6 separate regions of the Homo sapiens genome follow, and all the other regions are linked to region 4. Evidence: promoter capture Hi-C in 16 types of primary human blood cells and fetal thymus (Javierre and others, 2016). All regions are on one chromosome and are shown on one strand. The core of a region is centred on a gene start or on the middle of the fragment in contact, and the rest is flanking DNA. Distances in the headings are between cores, read along the strand shown.

What was found. Contacts are between HindIII fragments. The CHiCAGO score rates a contact against its expected background, and 5 or more counts as called.
Region 1: a contact is called between a fragment that was not itself captured here and the fragment with the promoter of FAM83A-AS1 in region 4, in 4 of 17 cell types (total CD4 T cells, total B cells, naive CD4 T cells and 1 more). The highest score is 6.8, in total CD4 T cells.
Region 2: a contact is called between a fragment that was not itself captured here and the fragment with the promoter of FAM83A-AS1 in region 4, in 1 of 17 cell types (naive CD8 T cells). The highest score is 5.8, in naive CD8 T cells.
Region 3: a contact is called between a fragment that was not itself captured here and the fragment with the promoter of FAM83A-AS1 in region 4, in 13 of 17 cell types (total CD4 T cells, naive CD4 T cells, activated CD4 T cells and 10 more). The highest score is 11.4, in total CD4 T cells.
Region 5: a fragment that was not itself captured here is called in contact with the fragment with the promoter of FAM83A-AS1 in region 4 in 2 of 17 cell types (total CD4 T cells and fetal thymus); the score reaches 7.1 in total CD4 T cells.
Region 6: a fragment that was not itself captured here is called in contact with the fragment with the promoter of FAM83A-AS1 in region 4 in 1 of 17 cell types (total CD4 T cells); the score reaches 5.6 in total CD4 T cells.

What each region holds. Positions count from the first base shown.
Region 1 is chr8:122,709,844-122,713,176 of GRCh38, forward strand. All of the region lies in intron 1 of LOC107986904 (a long non-coding RNA gene), which reads right to left. Among named protein-coding and RNA genes, the nearest start is that of LINC01151, 17 kb to the left of the region's middle. The HindIII fragment of the contact is 5,357 bases long and covers 1-3,333 here.
Region 2 is chr8:123,683,222-123,686,572 of GRCh38, forward strand. It overlaps ANXA13 (annexin A13), which reads right to left. Exons shown (of 11, transcript NM_004306.4): 10 at 1,389-1,501. Among named protein-coding and RNA genes, the nearest start is that of KLHL38, 31 kb to the left of the region's middle. The HindIII fragment of the contact is 5,117 bases long and covers 1-3,351 here.
Region 3 is chr8:122,727,057-122,730,634 of GRCh38, forward strand. The region is part of intron 1 of LOC107986904 (a long non-coding RNA gene); the gene reads right to left. Among named protein-coding and RNA genes, the nearest start is that of LINC01151, 35 kb to the left of the region's middle. The HindIII fragment of the contact is 3,615 bases long and covers 318-3,578 here.
Region 4 is chr8:123,201,026-123,204,631 of GRCh38, forward strand. It overlaps FAM83A-AS1 (FAM83A antisense RNA 1), which reads right to left and starts at 1,718. Exons shown (of 3, transcript NR_024479.1): 1 at 1,183-1,718; 2 at 619-957; 3 at 147-429. All of the region lies in intron 3 of FAM83A (family with sequence similarity 83 member A), which reads left to right. The HindIII fragment of the contact is 13,090 bases long and covers 1-3,606 here.
Region 5 is chr8:123,701,099-123,704,492 of GRCh38, forward strand. ANXA13 (annexin A13) reads right to left here. Exons shown (of 11, transcript NM_004306.4): 3 at 1,544-1,638. Among named protein-coding and RNA genes, the nearest start is that of ANXA13, 35 kb to the right of the region's middle. The HindIII fragment of the contact is 1,118 bases long and covers 1,518-2,635 here.
Region 6 is chr8:122,818,654-122,822,221 of GRCh38, forward strand. All of the region lies in intron 1 of ZHX2 (zinc fingers and homeoboxes 2), which reads left to right. Among named protein-coding and RNA genes, the nearest start is that of ZHX2, 39 kb to the left of the region's middle. The HindIII fragment of the contact is 249 bases long and covers 1,826-2,074 here.

The DNA of each region.
Region 1 (3,333 bases), core at 250-2,749, 490 kb before region 4:
CTGGAATACAGTAGCATGATCTCAGCACACTGCAACCTCCACCTCCTGGGTTCAAGTGATTCTCATGCCTCAGCCTTCAGAGTAGGCATTCTTGTGCCTCAGCCTCCAGATCCCAGGCCTGGGATCACAGACGTGTGCCACTATGCCCAGCTAATTTTTTTTTCTTTTGTAGTTTTGGCAGAGACAGGGTTTCACCATGTTGGCCAGGCTGGTCTCGAACTCCTGACCTCAAGTGATCTGCCCACCTCAGCCTCCCAACAGGCTTGAGCCACCGCACCTGACCCCAATCTCCTTTTCTGACTCTGACTCTTCTACTTCCCTCTTTTACTTATAAGGACACTTATGATTTCACTAGACCCACTCAGAAAATCCAGGACAATCTCCTCATCTCAAGATCCTTAGCTTAATCCCATCTGCAAAGTCCTTTTTTCTGTGTAAGGTAACACTCACAGGTTCCAAGAATTAGGATGTGGCCATCTTTGAGGGCCATTACTCTACTTATTACAACTATTTTTTAGTATAAAGTAAGACAAATTAATATTAAGCCTGGAAATGAAGACTGAGGCCATATCAAAATAAAGAACCTGGACTTCTCCAGTTAAGAAACAGGCAGAATTTATTTACTTTTGAAGTGGTACATTCACATGTCTTAACATTTGAAAGCTGTCATAAGGTACTGAGTAGAAATTTTCCCCTGTTCCCCAGCCATCCAGTTTCCCTCTCTGGAGCCAACAAATGTTACTTACCACTCTTTAATGTATTATTTTAGACATTATTCATATCTATATATTTTTACATTTTTACACAAATGGTAGCATAGTATAAAAAATTATTTGTAACTTTCTATTTTGGCCTCAACAATATAAATTTGTAGATCATCCCACAGCAAAATGAAAAGACCTTCTTTATTCATCTCTGTGGATACATAGTATTTGATTTTATAGACCACTGGTTCTCAACATGGTTGTTTATTAGAATGACATGGGAGGATCTTGGAAAATCCCCAGGAGTTCCAGTTATCTATTTTTCTGTAATAAACCACCCCAAAACTTAGAAGCATAAAACCATAATCATTTTATTATGCTTGAAATTTTTGGAGTCAATAATTTGGTCAGGGTATAGTAGGGACAACTTGTCTCTGCTCCACAGTGACTGAGGCCCTCAGCTATGGTGGTTGAGATGGCAGGAGTGGCTCAGTTAGAGCTATATATATGGGGCCCTGGTTCTACAGCAGCTGAAGTCCTTGGTGATTGTCTATATCACGTCTGCTGGTGGTGCAATGTCCAAGAACGCTTCTGATATGGTTTGGCTGTGTCCCCATCCAAATCTCAACTTGAACTGTATCTCCCAGAATTCCTACATGTTGTGGGAGGGACCCAGGAAGAGATACTTGAATCATGGGGGCCAGTCTTTCCCATGCTGTTCTAGTGACAGTTAGTAAGTCTCATGAGATCTGATGGGTTTATCAGGGGTTTCCGCTTTTGCTTCTTCCTCATTTTGTCTTGCCACCACCATGTAATAAGAAGTGCCTTTCATCTCCCGACATGATTCCGAGGTTTCCCCAGTCATGTGGAAATCTAAGTCCAATTAAACCATTTTTCCTTCTCAGTCTTGGGTATGTCTTTATCAGTAGCATAAAAATAGACTACTACAGTAAACTGGTACCAGTAGAATGGGGTGTTGCTGAAAAGATACCCAAAAATGTGGAAGCGACTTTGGAACTGGGTAACAGGCAAAGTTTGGAACAGTTTGGAAGGCTCAGAAGAAGACAGGAAAATGTGGGAAAGTTTGGAACCTCCTACAGACTCGTTGAATGGCTTTGCCCAAAATGCTAATAGCGATATGGACAATAAGGTCCAGGCCAAGGTGGTCTCAGATGGACACGAAAAACTAGTTGGGAACTGGAGTAAAGGTAACTCTTGCTGTGTTTTAGCAAAGAGACTGATGGCATTTTGCCTCTGCCCTAGAGATTTGTGGAACTTTGAAAGATAATTTAGGGTATCTGGTGGAAGAAATTTCTTTTTCCTTTTTTTTTTTTTTTTTTTTGAGACGGACTTTTGCTCTTGTTGCCCAGGCTGTAGTGCAATGGCACAATCTCGGCTCACCGCAACCTCTGCCTCTAGAGTTCAAGCAATTCTCCTGCCTCAGCCTCCCAAGTAGTTGGGATTACAGGTATGCACCACCAAGCCCAGCTAACTTTGTATTTTCAGTAGAGACGGGGTTTCCCCATGTTGGTCAGGCTGGTCTCAAACTCCCGACCTCAGGTGATCCGCCCGCCTTGGCCTCCCAAAGTGCTGGGATCACAGGCATAAGCCACCGTGCCCAGCCAGGCGGAAGAAATTTTTAAGCAGCAAAGCATTCAAGAGGTGACTTGGGTTCTGTTAAAGGCATTCTATTTTATAAGGAAAGCAGAGCATAAAAGTTTGGAAAATGTGCAGCCTGACTATGAGATAGAAAAGAAAAACCCATTTTCTGGAGAGAAATTCAAGCCAGCTGCAGAATTTTGCTAAGTAGCAAGGAGCCTAATGTTAATCCCCAAGACCATGGAGAAATGTCTTCAGGCCATGTCAGAGACCTTCATGGCAGCCCCTCCCATCACAGAGGCCTCCTCCTCCCAGAGGCCCAGGAGGAAAAAGTGCTTTCATGAGCCAGGCCCAGGGTCCCTGTGCTGTGTGCAGCCTAGGGACCTGTGTCCCAGCCGCTCCAGCCGTGGCTGAAAGGAGCCAGCATAGAACTCAGGCTGCATCTTCAGAGGGTGGAAGCCCCTAGCCTTGGCAGCTTCCACATGGTGTTGAGACTGCAGGTGCACAGAAGTACAGAATTGAGGTTTGGGGACCTCTGCCTAGATTTCAGAGGATGTATGGAAATGCCTGGATGCCCAGGCAAAAGTTTGCTGCAGGTACAGGGCCCTCATGGAGAGCCTCTGCTAGGGCAATGCAGAAGGGAAATGGGGAGTCGGAGCCCCCACTCAGAGTCCCTACTGGGCACTGCCTAATGGAGCTGTGAGAAGAGGGCCACCATCCTCCAGACCCCAGAATGGTAGATCCACTGACAGTTTGCACTGTGTGCCTGGAAAAGCCACAGATACTAAATGCCAGCCCATGAAAGCAGCCAGGAGGGAGGCTGTACCCTGCAAGGCCACAGGGGCAGAGCTGCCCAAGACATGGGAACCAGCCTCTTGCATCAGTGTGATCTGGATGTGAGACCTGGAGTCAAAGGAGATCATTTTGGAGCCTTAAAATGTGACTGCCCCACTGGATTTCGGACTTGCATGGGCCCTGTAACCCCTTTGTTATGGCCAATTTCTCCCATTTGGAATGGCGCATTTACCCA
Region 2 (3,351 bases), core at 330-2,829, 480 kb after region 4:
TTCAATAGAAAAAGATGAGTTGTGGAGGAGGAGAAAGGAGGGGAGGAGAAATTCCAGGAATAGAAATAAAAAAGCAAGAACCATCTTGTTGCAAAGTTATATTTAAAAACAGTGTCAGATGTTAAGCATTATTTGTTAAGAAGCCATGGATCAGAATTTGGGTTGGTGTCCCTCCCCCTTCACCTCCCCCTTCATTTAACCACTTTTTTTTTTTTTTTTTGAGGGAAGATGTCTGTGGTTTTCAAGTGCTTAGTTCCACTTCATTCCCCAAGGCTTCTCCTGCTGCCGATGAAATGCCACTTCCCCTTTATTTTGTACCACCTTCTGTCTGTGGCCCCATATCCCGAACTGTTAGCTGTGACCTTTTTTTTTTTTTTTTTTTTGAGACCGAGTCTCGCTCTGTTACTCAGACTGGAGTGTAGTGGCACCATCTTGGCTCACTGCAACCTCCACCTTCTGGGTTCAAGCAATTCTCATGCCTCAGCCTCCTGAGTAGCTGGGACTACAAGTGTGTGCCACCATGCCCAGCTAATTTTTGTATTTTTAGTAGTGACGGGGTTTCACCATGTTGGCCAGGCCGGTCTCGAACTCCTGACCTCAGGCGATCCACCCACCTCGGCCTCCCAAAGTGCTGGGATTACAGGCATGAGCCATTGCACCCGACCAGCTGTGATCTTGACGGCTGCTCCCAAGCCGTTGGCTCTTCCTCTCCCTTTTCTTTCTTATACATACACATTCTCCGAGAGCAAGCACAAATTGGTTTTTAGGGGGTGAAAAAGCCCTTAATTTTTTTATGTATAAAGCACTGATATCCACATGGTATATAAACAGATTTGTAGTATTATCTCTGGTGTTAACATTTCTTGTGGGGAAGGGATGGCAATGAAGAAACACGTGTCTAAAAAGGTTCCTTAGAACAGCAATAGTTTTTAAAAAGATTGAGAACCATTGCCTTATGCTGATGTGCTTGCTTCTGCAGTGTGTTCAGTTAAGGAAAGGCCTCACTCAGGAATTCAGAAATCATTCTCTTTTTGTTCCTGCTGCTGGTTGACCTCTTTCAAGTGTGTTTGTTTTGTCTTCCTTAACATGGAGCCATGCATAGCTGCAGCCCCTGAGAACTGCTCGACATGGTTGCCTCTGCGCCCCTCCACTAGCTCTCCAGAGCCACAGAGGACAAAAAAAGAAGCAACGATCATTATTGTATTTTTATAAAAAGAAACAGATTGAAGCAGAGCACAATGTCTTCTGCAAATTCTGGGAAGGCAAGGGGCCGTCTCTGTTTTACTTTTTCTGTAAATAGGCCCTTAATAGAAACTATTTGTTGATGACATCAGTGGTGGAAAAAAGAGAAGTTGCAGCCGCCTCTTTGGAGTCGGAGTGTGTCTTACCTCGGCCCTGGTCACGACTATGCGAATCAACGTCTCCTCATCGGTCCCCGCACCCTTCATCGACTTGTACAGACGTTCAGCAAAATAGTCCTCACAATCCTGGGCACATCTCACTGGGCAGGACAAAGGAAAAGAGAATGTGAGGCTTTCACGTTTTGTGGAATGACCTTGGGACCCCCCTAAATGTCACCTGGCTGCCCTTCGAGCTGACTGGATGGTGAGACAGAGGTGTGAAAAGAGCTGACTTGACACCGTTGCGAAATGAGATTTGGAAGATTCCCTGGTCAGAGCACCTGGAATCTTCAAGCATAGCTCCCCTCCTGTCCCCTGAAGACCCTCTAGAGGAGAGCTGTGGCATCCTCGGGCCCTCCCGGCCACGTCCATGATTCTCGTTATTTCCCAGCAGAAATAACTTTCCCTATCGAGTGAAATCTCTGGTGCTGTCCTAGGGTTCTGAAGGGAAACAGATTGGCCAGCAACCTTCTGGAACAAAACTTCATCATCTTGACAATGTATCCAGTTGGACAGCCGCCTGCTCTCCTATGCTCAACAACCTCCCTACTCTTTGTTTTTCCTCACTGGGGTTGTTTTGCAAGCCTCATCTCTGAACCTTTTCCAGGTTCCCCACGATCTTTTGGTTTGCAATCCGGGATGTGGACTTGATGAAATGTTTGATCCTTTTTAAAGATCACTTTCCTACGATGCTGCTATTTGCTCTTTCCTGGCTTCCCCTTGCCTTCCAGCTTTGATCTATCTACAGCTTAATGAAGCGTGGTCTCTATTCATCAAGCAGGTGACAGGGTGCATCTCTTCTCCTGGGAATAAATCATTCCTTCCCCTCTTCCCAGGCTCATATGAATCCATCATGGCTAACACGTTAGAGGAAAAAAAAAATATTTGCCCTTTAGGCTGTTAACATTTCTCTAGAACACTTGATGATGTTAGTGATTAACAGTAAGTGATTATTTCAGCATAAATGTGGAATGTGCAATCTTACTATGTCCCATAATGGGGCTGTTGTTGTCTAGGGGACTGTCTGTGTGATTGATGCTTATAAGCAGGGGAGAGGAGCAGAGTTCGGGAAGGAGAGTCTAGTTTGGGGACCAGCCGCCTTTTACAGGCCATGTGGCAGCTGCCACAGTTTCAGTGGAAAAGAAAATCGCACCGGAAAAGAAACAATGTCTGGCCTCTTTCTCCTGAGAACAACCCAAAAGCTGCTGGATTGGTGGTTCAGGGGAAACTTGCATGCTATTCTGGGGAGTAGCATATTCAAGACTTACTGTGATCCCCAGACAATTTGAGCTAATGAGCACCACAAAGTTTTCCTGAAAATCCTCTTCCATACAGCACGGCTTGATGTGGGGATCATTGTCTGCCTGAAGTCACCGTGTTCCGCTCCTGCACAGGGATCTTCTCCCTTGACATTCCTTCTACCTGATATTTCAGGAAGAAAACTCTCAACATTTCTCCTGTCTATAATCTATGCTTGGGGAACAACCTCTGTTGTTAGCAGCAGCAGGAATCTCTCAAAAGGCTGGGCAGGGATAGCCAAAGAAGATGTGGAATAAAATTATTCACTGCAGCCAGGCATGGTGGCTCACACCTGTAATCCCAGCGCTTTGGGAGGCCGAGGTGGGTGGATCATTTGAGGTCAGGAGTTCGAGACCAGCCTGGCCAACATGGTGAAACTCCGTCTCTACTAATAACATAAAAATTAGCCAGGCTTGGTAATCCCAGTTACTTGAGAAGCTGAGGCATGAGAACCACTTGAACCCGGGAGGCAGAGGTTGCAGTAAGCCAAGATTGCACCACTGCACTCTAACCTGGGTGACAGAGTGAAACTGTGTCTTAAAAAAAAAAAAAAGAAAGAAAGAAAGAAAGAAAAAAACCTCTTCACAGCAAATGGCAGGAAAGGCAGCCAGCCCGGTGCTCTATATCTTGCTCCCCTTTGCCTTCAGAGTGA
Region 3 (3,578 bases), core at 875-3,374, 470 kb before region 4:
GTTTGTCCGATTGAAATAAAGAAGATAGATTGACTTTGGGAATCAAATCCAAGGGGATGGGAATAGAAACGGTGTTGAGAGTAGAGGAGCAAACTCTTAATCAGCAATTCCTGAGGGCAGCGTGTCTTGGCCCAGCCTGCAGTGTCATCTGAGGAGCTTTTAAAGATGACCAGTTCCCAGCAGGTGATGAGGCAGATCCCAGGCATCAGTACATTTTTAAGTTCTCCAGATGCTAATGTGCAGGAGCTATAAGATGGGACAGGAAGGAAGAAATAGCATTTCTTGTGTGTGTGTCTTGTTTTCTGTTTGTTTAGATAAGCTTTGTATCTCATCCAATTCTGTCAACAATGCTGTATGTTAGATTTTACTGTACCCATCTCAAAGGCAAGAAAACAGGATAACCAAAGAACTGGCCTAAGTTCTCATTGTCATGAACAAAGGAGCCAAGATTTCCACTGAAGACTGCCTGAGTCCAAAGACAATGACTCTTTCTACCCTCATCATTCTCTCCCCCAAGTAAAATTTTAATAAGATTGAAGATAAGAGAAAGGGGAAAGAAAAAAAAATCTAAAAATAGGGTGTCACTGGATAAGACAAGGCTGGTCTGGGTGAGACATGATAGGAGAGGGCTCTGTAGGCAGCAAGAAACCGTAGATATCCCAAGCTGTTCATGGCACCAAGAAAAATGGGACAAAACCACCAAAGGGGGGTGGAGTGTCATCTAACCCTGTCAATGTTTCCTGAGCCTAGTCCTGCTCTCAAGGATGTCTCACATCCAAAGTTAACTCAATGGGCCATATTCCTATCAGACACTGGACTGTGACTTGGAACATCATGCCCATCAGCTCGAGTTTGAGAGCCTCTCAGCGTAGTTAATCTTCATCTTCTTTCTGGCTTCCAGACTGACTATATTCAGCTGTGAGAATAAACTGACATCACGGTAACCAGCCTTTCCTTATTTCCACAAGTCATTTCTCTCTTCTCTGTGACTGCTTGGCTCTCTAAGCTCGGCAGCCCATCTGGTTGAAGGGATATCCTGCTGCTTACAGCCTCCTCTGGGACTGCTCAAAGACAAGAGAAACCCTATCCATTTATACTCCCCTGTGTTTGCTCCATGGAACTGAATTTTATTTAAGCATCACATTTGTAGAAGGAAAAGGCATTTGTGTGTTTTCTTTCTTGATTGTATTTTTCAGCAACAAGATGCCCAATAAATTAAAGCAATCCTCAGAAGGAAAACTTCAAAACCAAAATCTCCCAAGCACCGTGTGCTCCCAAAGTCATAGAGCGTCTTTTAGTGAGTATCGGAAAATAAGGAGAGCTGGAAGAGGCCCTAGGAATCATCTCTTAGAAGGGGAAGCTGAAGCCCAAAATGGGGGATTGACTTGCCCCATGTCATGGCACAAGGCAGTGCTAGAAGTGGGACCAGAATATGGGTGCTTTGGCCTCATGTCCCCAGATGGTGTTTTGCTGGGCAGGGGCTGCATGCTGAGGAAAGACAGAAGAACATCACATTGAAGGTTGAAGGAGGCTTTCATGGGCCTGGAAGAAAGTAAAACTGGTGCCAAAGAAAACAGCGTATTTAAAACTGCAGGCTTAGCTTCAACAGTGATGAAAACAAAGTGATCTTTGCTATTTACCAACCCATCACTCCCAAGTTGACTAATGCAAGGGCCACCATATTGCACAACTCTAGGAGGCTCAACTCATACTGTCCTGTTAACCCGTATTTTAGAAAAGCAGAAAAATAAGAGCTCAACAAATATTAGCTATCCTTTTTCTTGTTTTGTATTAACAGCTAGAACCAAAGGCAATTATTGACAAGTACAGTATTCACTAAAATCAAACAGTCACCTAAGAACAACCCAGGCCTGGTGCAGTGGCTCAGGCCTGTAATCCCAGCACTTTGGGAGGCCCAGGTGGGTGGATCACTGGAGATCAGAAGTTCAAGACCAGCCTGGCCAACATGATGAAACCCCGTCTCTATAAAAATACAAAAAAAATTAGCTGGGTGTGATGGTGGGTGCCCATAATCCCAGCTACTTGGGAGGCTGAGGCGGGAGAATTGCTTGAACCCAGGAAGCGGAGGTTGCAGTGAGCTGAGATCGTGCCATTGCACTCCAGCCTGGGCAATAGAGCAAGACTCCATCTCAAAAAAAAAAAAAAAAGGGAAAGAAAAGAAAAGAAAAAGAACAACCCAAGAAATTTGGCTCTCAAGATTCGAAAGAATGAATGTATAAAATCGAGTAGATCAAAAAGATGTCTAAAAGAGGACATTCAGCAAGACTGATTAAGCACTCACGGGTGTTAGCTATGTGGTAGGTAGCATTGTTGTAAGTATTTTACACGTGTTCATCCTCTCAACAACTCAATGACAGAGGTACTGTTGTTAAGGCCCATTTTACAGATGAGGAAACTGAGATGAGGAGTCATCCAGTAACCGGCAAGTCACATGGCCAACAAGCGGCAAAGGGTGATTCAAAGGCAGCAATCACCTCTCAACACTGCATCCTTGACTACTTGCAGCATGGCTCTTTATGTTATTTGCTCCTGAGAGTTGGGGGGCAGTTGAGTCCTGCTCCATTTCCCTCAAATCACCGCAGTTGACCTACATGAAGTTTGTAATGGGGCCGACAGTGAGGAAGGGATCTGGCTCAAGCATAGGAGGACCCTTAAGGGGAGGCAGACCACTACAACTCTGGGAAATCTAGGAAGGATTGGTGGCATCCTTAAGGAAGCACAGGCCAGAGCCCCTCAGCATCACAGTGGGCATTCAGAGGGAGGCCCTGGGCCTCTGGGAGCTCTACACTTACCCCCACATCCATCCCTGCTTCAGGCATATAGAGTTAAAAAAAAAAGAAAAGAAAAGAAAATTAAGATCCTCCCCAAGAGGCCAACAGAAAATATTCAAAGTAACTCAAAACCTCCTCCAGCCTTTCTGAACCCAGTAGAGTTAGGAGATATTTTTAATTCATCCCACTCTGTAACCTTGAGCAATTTACCTAATCTCTTGAGTTTTAGTTTCTTCATCTCTATAAAATAAAGTTCACACTTACCATATATGTGTGTGTGTGTGTGTGTGTGTGTGTGTGTGTGTGTTAGAAATTAAATTTGACATAATTGGTGGAAAAGGCTTAGCACAATGCTTGCCAACTGGTAGAAGACCAATAAATAATAGCTTTCATCTACCCTTTTGGGACAGAAAAGGACGCTGTTAGGTTCCTATAAAACATTTATTTTTCATTATTTACCAATAAGCCCTTAATTTCAGGGCTACAATATGCCCAGAAAACAAGATCACCTCCCCAGACACCTTCGCAGTTAGGGTGGGCACATTTCAGTTCTGGCAGATGAAATGTAAGGAGAAGACTATTTGGGAAGCAGAGGGGTATCTTCCAGGAAATCTGTTGCTTCCCTAAAAATTGGAGAAACAGACTCAGCTAGCATTTCCTTTGACCTATGACCCTTCCTCTTCCTCCTATTTGAAGGTGCAGCGGCCATCTTGCCACCATAAGGACAAAACCACAGGCTGATCACAGGAATAGAGAAGAATCTTGGGTCCTAAATAACATCCTCTG
Region 4 (3,606 bases), core at 468-2,967:
GTGCCTGTCATCTTGGCTACTAGGGAGGGTGAGGCAGGAGAATTACTTGAACCTGGGAGGTGGAAGTTGTAGTGAGCCAAGATGCACTCCAGCCTGGGCGACAGAGTGAGACTGTCTCAAAAAAAAACAGAAACAAAAACAAAAACAGACTTTAATAAGGATTTAATCTTTATGACAACACTTTGAAGAAGGCATCATCCTCCTAATTGACAGAAGTGGGGTGGGGGATTTAGGCACAGAGAGGGGAGGCAACTGATCCAGGGTCACCAGCTTCCTTGACTAGGGTCACCAGCTCTCCAATCCCTGTGAAGCTGAGGGCTGGGCTTGTTAGCCTGATGTGCAGCCCAGGAGGAAGGCTGCCACAGCCGGAATACATGCAGGGCCGTCTGTGTTTACTGTCATTCCTGAGAGCTGTGGAGGAGCCAGCTCCTGGAGGGAGAACAGGACACCAACAGTGATTTTGCCCTTGACATTCAAAGGTGACCTGCTTACTAGCCTTTCAGGGGATCATCTTCACTGGGACCAGTCTCCCCTTAGAGTTGTTTCCAGTAAAAACAAAAACAAACAAAGAAAAAAAACCAGAAGAGGCCATTTATCCCTTTCTTTTAGCCCCGCTACCTGGGGGCTTCAGATATTTTGGCCCCTTCTTCTGGTTGTATATGGTTCTCCCAAACTGAAGAGCCCTGCTTCCTCCGCTGAGGCTAGAGGGCTGAGGTTGTGCATTTCAACACTGAAGGGCTGGTTGAGGGTCTGACCCCAGCATAGGTGCCATGCCAGGGCCATCAAGAAAAATTGCTGAGTGGCCAGAGTGGATTGGTGTGTGTGCTCTGAGATCAGCAGGAGCTAAGGAAGTGCTCTGGGGTCAGCTGAGAGGGAGCCACCACTTCTGCCTAGCAGGTCCAGGAGGTCGGTGCCATTGGCTGGAGTTGGGCCTTGAAGGATGAGAATTATTCAGCCCTGGTGGGGAAGAGGCAGGCAAAATTGGGCATTGGGAACAGGATGGGGAACAACAGCAAGACATCATCCTGGCTTCTAATTGGCCTCCTGCCCCGCCCCCACTGCCATCCATGGGTTTTCTCTCCCAGGAACAGAAACACAAACCAGATCAAACCACTTTAAAATCCTTCAGTACTCGCCACTGCTCCTAGGAACAACAACAACAACAAAAATCTACATCCTTACCAGGGCCTCTATCTCAGTAGGATCCCCCCACTCCTCCACTGTGTTGGAGCCACACTGGCCGCTTCCTCAGTCTTTCATGCTCTTTCGAGTCGCAGGGCCTTTGCACTTGCTGTTCATGCCCTCCGTCGGAGAGCTCATTCCTGCTGTCTCTATCTTGCTTACTCTTTATCTTGTAGGTGGCAGCTTCCAGATCATTGCCTCAGAGACCTCTGATCACCACCCCGAGCCCTCTTATCCTCTATGGCTTCACTCCCATCATGATTTGGAATTATTTATTTGTGAACTTGATTAGCCGAGATTGTAAATGACATGAGGTCAGGGACTGGACTGGGTATGTTTTCTTCTCTGTTGCTTTCCTGGCATGAAGTACAGTAAATACAGCACCTGATACATTATACATGGCCACAAATATTTGTTGAATGAATGAATAAAAGCACATTGGGTTCTGACCATTCAGTGTCCTGAAAGAATGCAGTTTTTCAAACTGTGCCTCACCATCCATTAGCGGGGTGTGAAATCAATTTAGTAGATGATGTCTAGCATTTTTTTTAAATGACACGGAATAGAATAAAAATAATCAGACCACGCTGAGGTAAAGGATGTTCTGGAAATTATTGTGTGGTTATGTACTTGTGGGTCATGATGTTAAATGTGCTTTTCCAAGAATAGCCAAGATAAATCCGAAAAAGAAAAACAAGCAGGGACGACTTGCCCTACCAGAGTTCAGAACTTGTCATGAAACTGCAGTAATCAAGACAATGTGTCATTGGAGGAGGGACAAATTGACACACAGAACAGAAAGCTCAGGCACATATTCACACACCACAGGGCATGACAGAGCAGTGGGGAAAGGAGGAACTGGAAAAAATAACTCCCCGTATGTAAAATGGGATTACTACCCACCATGCACGCATTTGTTTACAAATCGACTTGCAATAGTTGAAAAGAATTTGAATGTTGAAAATAAACTAAAACTCTCAGTAGATTTCTTTAAAAGGAAAACATACACACATTAAAAAAAAAAAAGCAGTGACCATAAAAGTTTGCTTAATCTGACTATATTACAATTAAGAATGTTGGTTCATTGAAAGACATCTTGGCTGGGTGCGGTGGTTCACATCTGTAATCCCAGCACCTTGGGAGGCAGAGGAAGGTGGATCACCTGAGGTCAAGAGTTCAAGACCAGCCTGGCCAACATGGTAAAATCCTGTCTCTACTAAAAATACAAAAATTAGCCGAGTGTGGTGGCACGTGCCTGTAGTCCCAACTACTCGGGAGGCTGAGGTGGGAGGATCACTTGAATCCAGGAGGCAGAGGTTGCAGTGAGCTGAGATCAAGCCACTGCACTCCAGCCTGGGGGACAGAATGAGATCTGTCTCAAAAAAAAAAAAAAAAAAAAAAGTAAGAAAAGAAAAGAAAAAAAGAAAGACATCTTAAAGGAAGTGAAAAGTCAGTTACAAACTGGAAGCAGCTATTCAAGATGCACACCCCTGACAGAGATTAGTGCTGAGACTCACAAGAGCACAAGAGCACAGCAGAAAAGTGGGTGGGAGACATAAGCAGGCGTTTCACCAAAGAGGCAACATATGGTTAAAAAAACAAAACAAAAAATTAGCCAGCATTGTTGTAACCCCAGTTACTTAGGAGGCTGAGGCAGAAGAAGCGCTTGAACCCAGGAGGCAGAGGTTGCAGTGAGCCGAGATCACGCCACTGCACTCCAGCCTGGGCAACAAGAGTGAAACTCCAACTCAAAAAAAAAAAAAAAAAGGACAAAAAAAAATTCTATAATTATGGAAAAAGGAAAGCAAGGGCGTTATGATCACAGGATTCATGATGTGCTGAGTTCTAGTTCAGGGGTCCTGGGAAAGGGATGCAAGAAGGGACCCTATGGCTAGATGTGGACTATCCTCAAGATGCTACCTTGGCCAGGTGTGGTGGCTCATGCCTGTAATCTCAGCACTTCGGGAGGCCAAGCAGGGAGGATCACTTGAAGCCAGGAGTTCAAGACCAGTCTGGGCAACATAGCAAGATCCCATCTCTGCCCCCAAAAAAATTTTTTTAAGAGAAAAAATTTTTAAAAAAGATGTGACCTTTTCTTTTAGGTAGTGGGTTCATAAGTGCTTACTATATTACTTAAAATCACCAATTAAATAGTTAAATAAGTGAAAATGGGTGATGAATAGACCAATGAGTAGAGTTTGGTCATGAGCCAAAGATGATTAAGTGAATGCTACGTACTTATGGGCCAAACAACAATAGAAATAAAATGTATTGGCCGGGCGCAGTGGCTCACGCCTGTAATCCCACCACTTTGGGAGGCCGAGGCGGGTGGATCACGAGGTCAGGAGATCAAGACCATCCTGGCTAACATGGTGAAACCCCGTCTCTACTAAAATACAAAAAAATTAGCCGGGCATGGTGGCG
Region 5 (3,394 bases), core at 827-3,326, 500 kb after region 4:
CTTGCCTGGACTGACTTTTCATATTGGTAGGGTGAATGTGTCTTGGGAGGCTACTGGAGTTAGGGATGTTGACAGGGATAAAAATTCAGCTTCAGGCCAGGCACGGTGGCTCACACCTGTAATCCTGGCACTTTGGGCTGATGTGGGCAGATCACGAAGTCAGGAGTTTGAGACTAGCCTGACCAAAATTAAAATACAAAAATTTTACTAAAAACACAAAAATTAGCTGGGCATGGTGGCGCGTGCCTGTAATCCCAGCTACTCAGGAGGCTGAGGCAGGAGAATCGCTTGAACCCGGGAGGCAGAGGTTACAGTGAGCCAAGATTATGCCACTACACTCCAGCCTGGGCAACAGAGTGAGACTCCGTCTCAAAACAAAACAAAACAACAACAACAAAAAAAACCACACACACATTCAGCTTCATGCATTCAATTAAATGCAGTTGAACTGAAGATGCACTTATTTTCATCAAAAATTACATTGACGCACCTAATAGTAAGGAGAGAAGCAGAAAAAGCACAAAAGCACAGCCATTTGGGCCATTTAGTGTACAAGCAAATAGCTCTATTTATGGCACTGGGTCCTCCAGGAATGGATACTGTTCTTGAAGTCAGGAGACTTGGATGTGAGACTTGGATGTGAGTCCTGGTTCTCTTTTTTTTTTTTAGGTGTGTGATTTTGTAAAATGGAAACAATCATAGCTATCATAGCTTTTTCCTGTATTGGTACATGCTGGCATTATCCTGACTGATTCTCCCAGCAACCTGAGAAGGGAGCTAAGTTATCATCTTCTTTCTATCCATGAAAAGACCAAGGCCTGAAGCAATTGTTACCTGCTCAGTATCAAATAAATAGGAAAACCCATCTTCATCTTTCTATATATCTATTTATACCTACAGTGATTGAAATGGTAAAAGTTTGAAAAATATAAATGAGAATACAGCATAATAATTGATATTCATTTTGCATAATGATAATTCTAATGACATTAAGAAAAGTTTAAGTTGTGTTCATTACATATTAATAAAGAAATAAGAAAGCCTAATGCATACTTGAAGACTTCTCTCTATAAAATTATTTTCAACAATAAAAAGAATGAAAGAAAAGAAAGAAAATGTAAAGAAAAATAGGTGTTGATAGCTTAATAAAATGGAGAGTTTTTTTGGTAGTTTTCTGTAACAATCGCTTATGAAAAATTCCTGTATAAAGACCCACTTGTGGAAACTGATTTTCAAATTACTGATCTAGCTACATATGTACAGTTAGTCCCAATTAAGTGAAAAAAAGACTAGGGTCTTCATAGAAAAATGAAGTCAATTTAAGAAATGAGTTTAAGAGTATTGATTTTACAGGCTATTGAGTTAACAAAGCAATTTCAGTTTTTCTGAACTCCATTAATGCTTTTAAGTGGTTATTTCACTTTTCCTCCTGGGCTGACTCAATAAAGCTATAAAGATATTCTGCGTGGCCTGGGGACATGAGGAAGCCGAGACGGCTGAGGCCATGGCTGGGTGCAAGCTTGCTGACCACCCCTGGAATCACCTTGCCGTACGTTGCCTTGTACTTTTGCTTGATTTGTTGCCTCTCATCTGATGTCCTGCCCGATAAGATTTCAATGATGGCTGCTTCATTGGTCCCTAAAATACAGGAGAAACAAACAAAGCCACAGTGAATAAGAAACAAGGTGGAAGTTTATTTTAGTCCAGGGTGAGGAAGCCAGGACTCACAGCTTAAAGGTGGTTGGAGGTGTCTATGGAACCCAACGGACCCTTAGCTTTGATGCCTTGTGCTGAAAACTGTATTCTTTTCATTCACTTAGACAAATAGCCATTGAGGCCTCACAGCACATGGCACACAGTGCTAGGCATTGTGGTGGAAAGAGGAACGAGTATGGCTGGTTCCTTAATTTTATTCCTAGGGAAATGAAAACATATGTCCACCCAACAATTGCATGTGAATGTTCATAGCAGCATTACTCATAATAGCTCAAACGTGGAAGCAGCCCCAGTGTTCATCACCTGAAGATGAATAAACAAAATATGGGGTATCCATACAATGGAATGTTATTTGGCCAGAAAAAGGAATAAATTACTGATAGATGTTATAACATGGATGAACCTTGAGAACATTATGCTAAGTGAAAGAAGTCAATCATAGCAGATCACATGTTATATAATTCCATTCGTATGAAAGTCCGGAACAGGAGAATATACAGAGGCTGGAAGTATACTAGTGGCTGGGGGTGGGTGGGCTGCCTAGGGGGATGGTAGCTGGAGTCCAGGGCTGCTTTTTGAAGTGATGAAAATGTTCTAAAATTGACTGTGGTGGTGGTTGCATGCATCTGTGAGTATAATAAAAACTGTTGAATTGAACACTTTAAATGGGTGAATTATATGGTGCATGAATTATATCTCAATTAAAATGTTTTAAAAAACAAAAAGGAAAAAGATGGCCTGTTCCTTGGCCTCTGGGTGCTTACAATTGCATGAACAAGATTAGGATATAGGCTGAAACTGTTACAATATTAACCCCACCCATACATTTGTTAATCTCAGGAGAGAAGTCTTGATTGAAACCATGAAGGGAGGTTGCCCCTTTTAACTCCTATTACCTTTAGATTATGTTATTTTTAGAAGCTTTTTTACCCCTGATGCTCAAAGTAATACAAGCTCATGGCAGCAATTTGATCAGTACTGAAAACTATAGTGAATAAGAAAGAAGGGGAGAATGTCCTTGTTTGAACCAGGAACCAGGATCGGAAAGATGACACAGGTATTTCCAGTGTGCGAATAAGAAAGACGGTTTTACCATCAAACCCCACATTAGATTTATTCAGGTTGGACTCAAATCACAGCTCCACCCTGTACCGACTGCATGACATTGGGCAAGTGATTTTTCTTGCCAAGTCTCAGTTTTCCCACCTCTAAGATGAGGGTAATAGTATACAAGGCTATTGTGAGAATGAAATGCGAGAATCCAAGTGTGGGTCCAGTCCGCGGTGGTCCTAAGCACGCACGTGGGAAACCCGGGACACCAGGGGATGTAAATGACCACGCGCCTGGCACTGCCTCACATCCATGCAGGGTGTGCACAGGGACCACCCTCCATGAACTGCTCACCCCAGTGATCGAGCTCGGTGGGATCAAGGCACAGCAGTCAGCAATCTCTGGAGCTGGAGGAAATGTTAGAGACTATCTAGTCCAAGCTCTTCTTTACAGAAGAGGAAGCTGAGGCACAATGCAGCACCTCTTCTCGGTTCCTGCATGTACCTGACTGTTCTGCAGCATTTGAATTCTGCAGTCGGGAATTATTTTTTTTTTTTGAGACAGGGTCTGGCTATGTCACCCAGGCTAGAGCGCAGTGGCATGATCACTGCAACCTCCACCTCCTGGG
Region 6 (3,568 bases), core at 700-3,199, 380 kb before region 4:
TTTAAAAATGTGTCTTACGATGAAACTTGGCATCCAGGACGCGCCCCGTGAGGAATTTGTTTTTGTTTTAATGCCGAGGACGTTTGCATGAAAACAGGATCTTCGTTGCTTAGGAATTGATCAACTCCTGCTGCTGCTTTTCCCTGCTGAAGTGCCAGTCCCATATTTGTCACAGGCAAACCAGTAACTGTAGGGATGGTTGGGACCTCCACAGATAGAGGATGGTGGCTGCTCAGGGGTATGCAGAGGCCATGGAGCCAAAGGAGAGAATCAGGAACCCATCTCAGGCAGCAGCAAGCTCGCAGATAGACCGCGTCCTTAGCCATAGGACCACAGCAAGAGTGAAGATTTTTTGTGGGTCTAGTTTGTTCTAGATGCTCAGGGGAGAAGAGAACGAAGAGAGAAGGCATTAAGACTCAGCCTCCATCTGCAAGGAGCTGAAGGCCTTCTTGAAGGCCAGATGGGAGGCCAGTGCATGAGAAGACAGTGGTTAGACCCAAAGTAACAATGAAGACCCCAGGCAACTGAGAAGAGCCAGTGCCTGCAGTGGGAAGGCTGGGAGTGAGACCGGGATCTGCCACCTACCCACGAGGTCACCTTGAGCAGGCTGCCTGACCACTCTGCACCTCTGTTTCCTCACCTACAGAATGGCACTCTCCCACCAGAGCCTTATGAGATGCTCCATGCTAAATGCATGGCATAGAGTAAGCATGCCAGCAGTCCAGACCGTTATTCCCAGCATGCGTGCTCACAGTAGATGCTCTCCATCCTCAGGAGGAGATACAAAGATGGCCATAGAAGGCTTTTTAGAAGAAGGACTTGAACTTGGTTTGAAAGGAGGAGAAAAAGATTACCTGGGAACAAGAGTGTTCCTGATGTTCAAGTGGCCAGACTGGGACACATCTGCTTCCACTGCAGTCAGTTCCTAAGGAGGTTTTCCAGGCACTATCCAAGAAACCAAAGTAGAATTGCCCGCATGAAATTGGAGGGGGTGTCCTGCTCCATGGGGACCCCAGCTCATTTTTGGCCTCAGCCTGGCCCCACAGGCATCGGCATAGAAAGGACAAAGTTGACGAGAGCCCAGACTGGGCACTCCACTGGGTCAGGCCCTTCCTTTGCCTCCAGGCTTGGCTTCCAGAAGGCAGTGAAGTGGTTACATCCAAATACCCACAAGAGGCCGGACACCTTTCTCTCCCGTATCCTTAATATATGCTAATCAAAGCTGAGAGCCTGCAGAAAATATCTGCTTGGCCAAAGCCCCACACCCTCGCCTTGGCTGGGCTGCCCACCCTCCCCAGGCCTCCCCTCCCATCTGCCTAGCTAAAGGCGTCCATAAATCCAGCTTTCAGAGCTCTCAGGGGTTGGCGAGACTGCCATGGACCTCAGTCACATCACGATGGAAACAATTGAAAACCACTTGGCAAAAAGAAGGGGTGATCTAATGTTTGATAGCAAGAATACATTTTTTTTTCCTTGCCATTCTTACTCAAACCCAGGGGGAAAAGCCGGCTGCTCTCCAGTCCCTGTCAGATCAGTACCCCCAGGGTCCCTGACTCTTGTCCTCTGTCCCAGAGGAAGTCCAGGCTGTGGGGCTGGCTGTGGCCTCCTCGCAGGCCAGGGAGGAGCAGAGCTGGCCCTGCCTTTCTGACTGGCCAGGCTGCCTTGGGCCCCTCAGAGGCGAGGAGATGGCCACAGGGGCCTGTGGAGAAGCCCATATATAGAGCCTGGGGAATGTGGGCCTCTGGCAGGCGGCCTGGAAAAAATGGCCGTGTTCTGAGGGTGAACGCCGCCGAATTATAAATAGCACCCGCCTCCCTCCCCTTCAAGCTTGCTGTGTCTGTCACTGGAGAGTTGACAGTTAAAATTCAAGAGGACTGAACAGGACAAGGGAGCGGGAGCGGGGGATGGGGGAGATGCCGGATTGTGCAGGAAGCTCAGCTGCTGTCTTGGGATTGATACGGAGAATAGTCACCAGACGACGGGGCTGAGAGAGGGATGCATTTGGGGTGGCAGAATGACTCCTGATTTTATGCATTTTTATAAGCTGAATAAGAATGGAAGGAAAACTAAAGGAAGCTTCAACTCCACGAGATGGTTTTATGGGTGCTTTAGAGCCTTTAAAAATAATAAGAATAAAAATCAGCTGTCTCCGAATATTAAAGGTGTCTCTCTGGTTCCGAAAGGTCAGCCACCCTGGCTTCCAAATCAAAGCCAACGGCCAGGTGCCCACACAGGCCCGTGCCTTGAGCCTCCTGCCAAAAGGTTTCTTAGTGTGTTTTTATGTCTCCCTGACATGGAAGCAGCAGGGATGTTTCCCCAGCCCCTAAAACCTCTGCACATTGTGCTCACCCAGCAGAGGGTGATGATTCAGGAGGAGTCAGAAATAAAGAAAGGAAGGAGTGTGCAGCCCTCGCCATGGAAAGCCACACAGCCGTTCACATCTGGGTAGCAGTGAGGGGTGGGCAATGTTCTCGCGAATTCTAGATTCTGGAGGAGGGGTGCGCTGGTTCTGCAGGGACCAGGAGTCCCTCTTTGTGTCCTTGGATCTGCTGGCAACTCCTGGGAACCAGCTGCCAGGCTTCCTGACTTGCTGCCCAGCCCTGCATGGACGGGAACTAGAGTTCTGCTGGGCGCTGGGATGGGATACAATGGAGGTGCCTAGGGGCTTGTTGGGGGCTGGGCCAGCTCCGTGGGCATCTGTGCCTCCTCTGTGAGCAGGCTAAGCTATAGTAAGGGCTTATCTCCTTTGTTTTAACAGTTGGGGCTTTGGCTTCCATAGCAATGATTTGCAAATAGGGTAATTTATTGGCTTCTCTCCTCCTGCCTTGATAAATCTCATATCTTACATCCTTTGGAGCCTCATTTGAAATCAAACACTTAAAAAAAAAAAAAAAGGAGCACTCATGCCTTTGTTATCTTTTGGACACTTCTCAAAAGAAGATCCCTGGACCCCATAGGATGCAGGCAACACAGAGATGTGAGGTGAGAGCGGGTAGACATTAGAACTTGACACACAGTGATGCTACAGGCATGACTTTATTTATTTATTTATTTATTTATTTATTTATTTAGAGACAGAGTCTCAGTCTCACCCAGGCTGGAGTGCGGTGGCGCGATCTCGGCTCACTGCAACCTCCAACTCCTGGTTTCAAGTGATTCTCATGCCTCAGCCTCCCGAGTAGCTGGGATTACAGGCATGTGCCACCACGCCTGGCTAATTTTTGTATTTTTAGTAGAGACAGAGTTTCCCCAGGTTGGCCAGGCTGGTCTTGAACTCCTAACTTCAGGTGATCCACCCTCCTTGGTCTCCCAAAGTGCTGGGATTACAGGTATGAGCCACCGTGCCCAGCCTAGTGTGACTTTAAAAGTGTGCTTCTAGGAGCCCTATTGAGAGAGGATGCCTCGGAGGCCCAACAGTAAGGGGACTTCCAGACCCTGGCTCCTATGTCAAGCAAAGCAGCTCTACTCTTACTGCTATTAGGTATTAGATTGCATTTTGAAAAAATGAATTTCATGCCTTAAAATGCTTGGAAACCAGTATCATAACTTACCCCACGATTTTAGTGCT